Linked DNA regions of Homo sapiens: region 1 is linked to region 2. Evidence: promoter capture Hi-C in 16 types of primary human blood cells and fetal thymus (Javierre and others, 2016). All regions are on one chromosome and are shown on one strand. Each heading gives the region's core, a stretch centred on a gene start or on the middle of the fragment in contact. The rest is flanking DNA. Distances are from core to core; before and after follow the strand shown. Region 1 has its middle 40 kb from the start of LTBP4. Region 2 holds the start of AXL (AXL receptor tyrosine kinase).

Region 1 (4,141 bases), core at 182-2,681, 580 kb after region 2:
TTGAACTCCTGGCCTCAAATGATCCTCCTGCCATAGCCTCCCAAAGTGCTGGGATTGCAGGCAGGATCATTTCATCTGGCTCGATTCTGAGTTTTGAAAAATTCGTAAGTCATGTAATCACCACAGTCTGCATTCATGACAGTTTTATTACTTCAAAAATTCTCTTGGGCTTTGTAGACAAGCATAGTTGGTTTTTGTATCTGCATTTATTGTTCTAATGGGAGGAAAAGCAATCGTGGGAGGTTGTTTAAGGCCTGAAGTTATTCAAGATTGGGCGGGAGTCCACCAGCAAAAGCCCAGGATTAGGCAGGAGGAGACCTGGGCTCCAGGCTTGCTCTTCCACTTGGGCCTTCCTCTCTCTGAGCCTCAGCTTCCCCATCTGTAAGATGGGTATGTGAAAACCCCAAGAGTTAACAAAGGCATCCAGGAAGCTCTCAACTGTGGCAGCTCTTTCTTTCTTCTACTTTTTTTTTTTTTTTTTCGAGATGGAGTTTTGTTCTTGCTGCCCAGGCTAGAGTGCAGTGTTGTGATCTCGGCTTACTGTGATCTCTGCCTCCCGGGTTCAAGCGATTCTCCTGCCTCAGCCTCCCGAGTAGCTGGGATTACAGGCATGTGCCACCACACCCGGCTAATTTTGTATTTTTAGCAGAGATGGGATTTCTCTATGTTGGTCAGACTTGTCTCGAACTCCCGACCTCAGGTGATTAGTCCACCTCGCCCTCCCAAAGTGCTGGGATTACAGGCGTGAACCACCGCGCCCGGCCCTCTTCCTTCTTTATTTACAGCTCTGAGGCCGAGTCATCCCAACCCAGGCACTAGCCCTGCACAGAGCAGCCAGCCCTCCTGGTCGCCTGCCCGCTGCTCCCCCACAGACAACCTGACAGTGTTCCGCGCTTTATTTTAAATTATTTTTTATTTTTGGAGACAGGGTCTTACTCTGCTGCCCAGGCTGGAGTGCAGTGGCATGATCACGGCTCACCTCAGATCTCCTGGGATCCAGCGATCCTCCCACCTCAGCCTCCTAAGTAGCCTTGGGAGTACAGGTGGGTGCCACCATGCCTGGCTAATTTTTAATTTTTTGTAGAGACAGGGGTCTCACTATGTTGCCCAGGCTGATCTCGAACTCCTGGGATTAAGCCAGCCTCCCACTTTGGCCTCCCAAAGTGCTGGGATTAGAGATATGAGCCACCACACCCAGCCTATGTTCTGTGTTTTCTACCTTCAATAGCACTCAAATTCTCCCCTTCCCTTGGCGGGGCGTAGTGGCTCACACCTGTAATCCCAGCACTTTGGGAGGTTGAGGTGTGCGGATCACTTGAGGCCAGGAGTTCAAGACTAGCCTGGCCAACATGGCAAAACCCTGTCTCTCCTAAAAATACAAAAAATTAGGCCAGACGTCGTGGCTCATGCCTGTAATCCCAGCACTTTGGGAGGCCGGGGCAGGTGGATCGCTTGAGGTCAGGAGTATGAGACCAGCCTGGCCAATATGGTGAAACCCCGTCTCTACCAAAAATATTAAAAATTAGCTGGGTGTGAGGGTGCGTGCCTGTAATCCCAGCTACTTGGGAGGCTGAGGCAGGAAAATCCCTTGAACTCGGGAGGCAGAGGTTGCAGTGAGCAGAGATCGTGCCATTGCACTACAGTCTTGGAGACAGACTGAAACTCTGTCTCAAAAAAATATAATAAAATAAAATTATCTCCTTCCCCAATCCACAGTCCCCAGGGCCTGCGCCTCCCAGATTCTCCATGGCCCTGTCCATCTCCGCTGCCTGGGTCCCTGCCCGGCCGGCCTCCTCCCTGGACTCCAGCCTGCCCTTATGTCTCCCATGACCCACTCCCACCCAGCCACCCACAAGCACTTTCTAAATCTGACCACAGACCCCCATGTCTCAAAGGATAACTCGAGGCCTGCCAAGCGCCTCCCTTCCCCATAGGACAAAATTATTGCCAGTAATAATCAGGAAATGAAATGAACAATATTAATAGTCAGAAAAGAAATGTAAACAGTGGAGATTTTCTTTTCTTGAACCTCATATACGTAAAGTCTGCCAGTAAAAATTAAATTTAAAAGTAAACATTACAGTACTAAAAAAAAAAAGAAAGAAAAATAGCACTACTATTTATTCAAAGTTTATTGAAAAATTCGAAGTTGGAACTTGGGTTTTTGGGTTACAGTCTGATATAAAATTGTTATGTAAATAGTTGTGAGTTTTTTTCTTCTTGAGGAGAGAGAGACTGGGAGGGAGGGAGGAAACAGGAAGAGAGACAGACAGAGAGACAGACACAGAGTGAGACACAGTTGACCCCTTCACATGGGGCCCTGGGCACTTAGAATTCACCCTGCAAAGCCCCCCCGAAGTCAGGACTTGGTGTGGGGTGTTGCAGAAATGTTTCCTCCCCCTGCCCGGGCTCCGCTGGGAAGCCACGTCCCCCACCCCTGCCCTTCCTCCCACCCACAGCCTGCCTTCTCTCTGGGGACCTCTGTGGAGCTGCCTGGAACATGCGTGGGGTGACATGCATAGCAAGCTGGGGGAAGCAACCAAGGTGGTGGCCAGGCCCCTTGAAGACATAAAAGCACATTGCATTGGGAGGGAGGGACCCCGGGGGGCTGAGAATGTCCTGTTGCTTAAACTGGATGGAGGGGACACTGGGTGGTGGGTGCAGCTCCTCGTTTTCAGCAGTGGTTTCTTGAAGTAGACCCATATTCAGGAAAGTACAAACCGTAAGTGTAACCGCTGGAGGAATTATCACCGATTGAACACACCTGTGTCACCAGCCACCAGCCCAAGAAGCAATATCTCCAGCCCCCCAGAAGCCCCCTCGGCGCTCCCTTATCACCTGCCCTCCCTCCAAGGTCATTATCACCCTCACTTCTGACAGCATAGATTGGTTGTGCCTGTTTTGAATTCATGTAAATGCAATCTGAAAATATGTTCTTTTTAGCATCTGGCTTTTTTCAGTCAGCACCGTGAAAAAAATTCATCCTGGTTGTCGTGTGCAGTTACAGGTTATTCTCATTGCAGCACACACACATTGCAGGCCACTGTGGGATCAGTTTATCCATTCTTCTGCTGGTGGTGAGGGACTGAGCCAAGGGGGCCAGGCGCGGTGGCTCACACCTGTAATCCCAGCACTTTGGGAGACTGAGGTAGATGGATCACTTGAGATCAGCAGTTCGAGACCAGCCTGGCCACATGGTGAAACCCCGTCTCTACTAATAATACAAAAATTAGCTGGGGGTGGTGGCGGGTGCCTGTAGTCCCAGCTACTCGGGAGGCTGAGGCAGGAGAATTGCCTGAACCTGAGAGGAGGAGCTTGCTGTGAGCCGAGATCGTGCCACTGCACTCCAGTCTGGGCAACAAGAGTGAAAAAACTCCGTCTCAAAAAAAAAAAAAAAGAGAAACTGAACCTAGTGGAAAGAGTCCCCTAGGCAGAGGGAACAGCCAGTGCCAAGGTCCTGGGGTGGGATGGGAACATGTCTGGATCTTAGAGAAACAACAAGGAGATCCGTGTTGCTGCAGAGGAGCGTGTGGGGGGTGGAGGGGAGGTGAGGTCAGAGAGGGAACAAGAAGCAGACGGTGCAGAGTCTGCTGGACCACAGTGAGGACTTTGGCTCTTACTTTGAATGAGATTGGCGGAACACAGTGGCTCAGGCCTGGAATCCCAGCATTTTGGGAGGCCGAGGTGGGTAGATAAGTTGAGCCCATAAGTTCAAGACCAGCTTGGGCAATAAGGGAGGCCTCGTCTCTATCAAAAAATTGGCTGGGTTGTGGTAGCCCTGGAGGCCTGGAGGATGGCTTGAGCCGAGGAAGTCTAGGCTGCAGTGAGTCATGACTTGCACCACTGCACTCCAGCCTGGGCAACAGAGTGAGACCCTGTCTCAAAAAAAAACAAAAAAAAAATGAGCAAAATAATCTTTGAGTGAGATGGAGCCACAGGAAAGTTTTGAGCAGCAGAGGGAGTTGAGTTGACTTGGTTATTCCCAGAGTCCCTCTATCTGCATGACGGGGAGAGATTGTGGGGCCAGGAGTAGGAACTCCAAACCCTAGGAGGAGGGTAAGATATGGGTGGCAGCTATGGAGGTGGTAAGAAGTATTTGGCCTCTGAATACATTTTTTCTTTGTTTGTTTTTGAGAGGGAG
Region 2 (4,349 bases), core at 1,838-4,337:
AGACACATACAAAGAGAGACAGAAAGACACACACACCAAGAGACAGAAAGAGACAGAAAAAGGCATACGGAGAGAAATAAGATAGGTAGAGACAGAGAGGCAGAGACAGACTCAGAGGGAGAAACGAGAGAGACAGACAGTGAGGGACAGAAGGACAGTCAGACACTCACGCAGAGGTAGCAATGTTCCCTTGCTCCTGACTTCAGCCCTGCCCGGCCCCCTATTCGGAGCTGACCCACATCCCCGGACTCACCTGGAACATGCAGGCTGCGCTGGGGGCCGTGACCTGGAGCCGTGGCCAGGGGGACAGCATCCTGGAGCCAGAGTAGGTCCACGGGCTCTGGGGGTCCCTGAGCTTGGCAGCTCAGGTTGAAGGGGGTGTTGGCGGCCACAGTCCTGTCTTCGGGCTCCTCCAGGAAGTAAGGCAAGCCTAGCGGGGTGGGCAGTGGTAGAGGCTGGGGTCCCTCTGAGGCCCCAAGATGCCTGACTCACCACTAGGATGCTGTAGGCTTTGGGCAGCAAACCCACCCTGCAGGGTCATTGACTTGCCTTATCTGATCCCCGAGGGCACCTGAGCCATACCCAACACACACGTGACCCCAATATCTGATTCCTCCCATGTCAGACCCCCCACGATAGCTGAGCTCCTCATGTCTCTCTTCCAGAATGTCTGACAGCTCATCCTCATCTCATTCTATGGATGAGAAAAAAGAGACCGCTGGGGTCGTGGGGACAGGGGTACGTTGCGTGCCTCTGACGCCTTATCTGAAGACCAGAATGGCCTCCTGTGACCTGATGGTGTCTGATGCCTAGGACATCCAACTACCCCCAAGAAGTCTTTTCACCCAGAACATATAATCCCCCAGCCTTGGCACCATAACTTATATGGACTCCCAGCTTCTTGACCACCCAAAACTCTGACATTCTTAGGCTGTATGACGCTAGGTTCATCCTGAATCCTCCAGCACCCTTTGACCTTGACCCCTCAGGATTCCTGACTTCCCACAACCTATGAGCGCCACATGTCCTCTGACCCCTCAGGACCCCTGACCCCAGAGCTCACCCTCCAGCCCAACATAGCCAGGCTGGGACACGAAGGTCTGATGTCCCAGAAACACCAAACACTGGTACTGTCCCGTGTCGGAAAGCTGCAGGGAGGTGATTCTGACAGGGCAAGAGGAGAGACAGAGAGGTTCAGGGTCAGAGCTGGACACTGGGAGGGGGTCTGTCAGAACGGAAAGAGGGTGTCCAGTCTGGAAGCTCATGACAACCACGAAGTATGTCCTATTATTAACTCATTTTGCAGAAGAGGAAAACGAAACCTAGAGGTTCCATCACATGCTCAAAGCCGCACGGCTGACAAGTGGTCAAACTGGGGTTCCCACCCAGGTGGGCTTTCTGCCCTCTGTGTGACGGAGGTGGGAGTGGGATTCGGGGATGTGGCCACACACCTGAGCTGGCTGACCACTATCCAGTCATCCTGTTCATCCTCACCCAGGGGCACCTGGGTCTGGGTGCTGTCCGCGAGCTCCAGGATCTGTCCATCCCGAAGCCAATGTACCTCGGGGGGCTCTCCCTGAACCTGGAGCTGACACCGAAGGGTGCCCGTGAGTCCCCGGGCACCTGTGATATTCCCTGGGTTGCCCACGAAGGGACTTTCTTCAGCCTGCGTGCCTGGAGGGGAGATGGGAAGAGTTAGCTTAGGAACCCCCCAGCTCCTTCCGGCCCTCAGTTCCACCCTGTCCTTGCCTGCCCACCGGCGGCCAGGACCCCGCCAGGCCCTTAGGCCGACATAGTTGCAGAGTGACCTCAGAGTGGGGTGGAGGGCGGAGGCTCTGAGAGGAGGACGGGAGCCCTCCCAAGGGACTGGGATCTAGCGTCCATCCCGTCGGGAAGGAGGCTCGGGATCTGGCAGCCTCCCACGCCCTGCACTGCCTGGCAGGGCCAGCCCCTGCCCCCTCCGTCCTCTCTTAGGTCTCTAGAGACTTAACAGGTCGCGCTGGTGCTGGTGGATGGAGGGGAAGAATCAGGGGTTGGGGGAGAGAGATAAGGGTGGTGGTGGGGGGAGATAAGGGTGGTGGCGGAGGGAGAAGCCAGAGAAAGGCAGGGGAGATGAGACAGAGAGGAGCACAGATACAAGGCAAGACAGAAAAAATGAAGAAACAGCCCTCAAGAGAGAAGAAAAGGTGGGGGCGGAGGGGGGATACAGTCACAGAGGGAGGCTGAGAAGAGAGAGAGAGACTCAGAGAGCAGGGAGAGATAAAGGCAGAGACTGTGAAAGAGAGAGAAACAGAGACCCACAGAGATAGCAGAGCTGGAGGCAGAGACAGAGAGACAAAGTGAGAGCCTCCTCCCCAGAGATGGAGTGGACTGGTGGGGTAGGGACAAGTGGCGGGTCAGGGGGGTGGTGTTGGCAGGGAGAAGCGTTTTCCCCCAGGGCTCCAGAGCCCTCCTCATCCCACTGCCTGACTCGGTGCCCCTTCGGAAAGATTTCTTCCTTCCTGGCGACCCTCAGCTCAGCCCCTCTCCCCATGGCCCCCTTCTCAGGTCCAGCCCCCACCCCTGCCCTCAGCTTCTCCTTGTCTGTCTGTCTCTCCGGGTCCTCTCTTCTGTCCCCCCTGCCCTTCAGTTCCTCTCTCAGTCTTTCTCTCCCTCTGCCGCACTTGGTGTCTCTGAGTCTGTGTCTCCCTCCCTTGAAGTCCCTTTTCTGTGGTCCCAAGGAAACTCCCTAAGCCAGCCCAGGCCCCCCACACCTGCCATCATCCCCCACCTCCTACCCCTGCCCCAGCCCCTCCGAGGGGATCCCTGCCCCAAGGAGCCCCCATCACTCACCCCTGGGGGCCATGCACGCCCAGCCGCACAGCGCCAAGCACCAGGCCAGCGGGACCCTGCCCATCCTGGGGCACCGCCACGCCATGGGTGCCAAACTTTCCTCAGAAGTTGTTGGGCTCCCAGCGGGGGAGGGGGCAGGGCCGGGCTGTCCCCGGCCCTCCCCCCAGCTCCAGGCTCCCCGGATTTGGCACTGCCTGCCTGGCACAGCGGCAGGGGAGGCCCTTGCCACCGGCTCTGCCCAGCAGCCGCCTTCTCAGCACCCCTGCCTCCTTCCCTCACTCCCAGACTTGGGCAACCCTTTCTCCGCCCCTGGCTCCCCCTTTGCCTCCGCCCACCAGGGCCAGAGCCCAGGGGCCACCTGGACAATCAGGGGTTAACTCAAGAGAGGAGAGGATCAGCTCTTTCTTAAAGGGGCCAGGGAGGGAGCTGAGGAGGGGGAAGGGGACCCTGGTGGCTGTGCCCCCTGTCCTGAGCCAGTGAGGCCGTGTCTCTCTATCCGGGCTCTGGGCGCTGTCCCTCTGGGCTCTGTGTCTGGTAAACATTCCTCCAGAACTCCACTCCCCTCTCAGCTCAGGCCGTGACGCCCCTCTCCCCGCCTCCACCCCCAGCCCAGCCCCAGCCAGGCCTCCTTGGCCCTTCATTCCCCCTCACTCTCTCGGCTCCTCGGACAAGGACACACACACACACACACACACGCACGCACGCACGCACGCACACACACTCTTAGACGTCACTGACACACACAGGCTAGGACAAGCAGAGACACGCAGAGGGACCCAGACGGGCAGGGGCATGCTACTGGCCCACAGACACACTCAGACAAGCCAGGCCAGGAGCTCGATTCCTGGAGAAACCTCAGAGACAGGAGGACACGGCTGGGTGGGCATCCATGGGGGACACTTACTTGGGGAGACACAGATCTTCAGACACGCCAAAACCTGCATGGACGCCTAAATGGGACACCAAATACAGGCGACATGAAGGGGACCCAAGTTGGAATCCCAGTGCTACCACTAACTGTGGGCTACAGGCAAGTGACTGGCCTCCTGAGCCTCAGTTTGTCCATCTGTAAAATGGGAATAAGAATAGTTGTTGGCCGGGCACAGTAACTCACTCCTGTAATCCCAGCACTTTGGGAGGCCAAGGTGGGAGGATCGCTTGAGCCCAGGAGTTCGAGACCAGACTGGTCAATGCACTGAGACCCCCATCTCTACAAGAAGTTTAAAAATTAAAACTTAACCAGGTATCATGGCGTGTGCCTGTGGTCCCAGCTACTAGGGAGGCTGGAGTGAGAGGAACGCTTGAGTCCAAGAGATCGAGGCTGCAGTGAGCCCTGATCATTCCACTGCTCTCTCCTTCTGGTGGGACTGTGTGTCCTGGTTATTGCAGATCTGCTGCCTGCGTATCGGCTCTGCTGCACTTCCATTCCTCGGCCCTGTGTGTTTGGCACGTGGAGGGCTCTGCATGCCTGGATGTCTGTGAGGAGGAGGCTGGGCGTCTATCCCTCTGCTCTTGGC

What was found. The method cuts DNA at HindIII sites, captures the fragments that hold promoters and counts their contacts. A CHiCAGO score of 5 or more calls a contact.
Region 1: a fragment that was not itself captured here is called in contact with the fragment with the promoter of AXL in region 2 in 3 of 17 cell types (naive CD8 T cells, M2 macrophages and erythroblasts); the score reaches 7.1 in naive CD8 T cells.

What each region holds. Positions count from the first base shown.
Region 1 is chr19:40,639,187-40,643,327 of GRCh38, reverse strand. No RefSeq gene overlaps it. Among named protein-coding and RNA genes, the nearest start is that of LTBP4, 40 kb to the right of the region's middle. The HindIII fragment of the contact is 6,260 bases long and covers 1-4,141 here.
Region 2 is chr19:41,217,961-41,222,309 of GRCh38, reverse strand. It overlaps AXL (AXL receptor tyrosine kinase), which reads right to left and starts at 3,087. Exons shown (of 20, transcript NM_021913.5): 1 at 2,833-3,087; 2 at 1,452-1,674; 3 at 1,064-1,164; 4 at 254-430. The coding sequence starts at 2,917. RefSeq lists enhancers at 1-871, 3,122-3,946 and a silencer at 3,374-3,513. The HindIII fragment of the contact is 40,135 bases long and covers 1-4,349 here.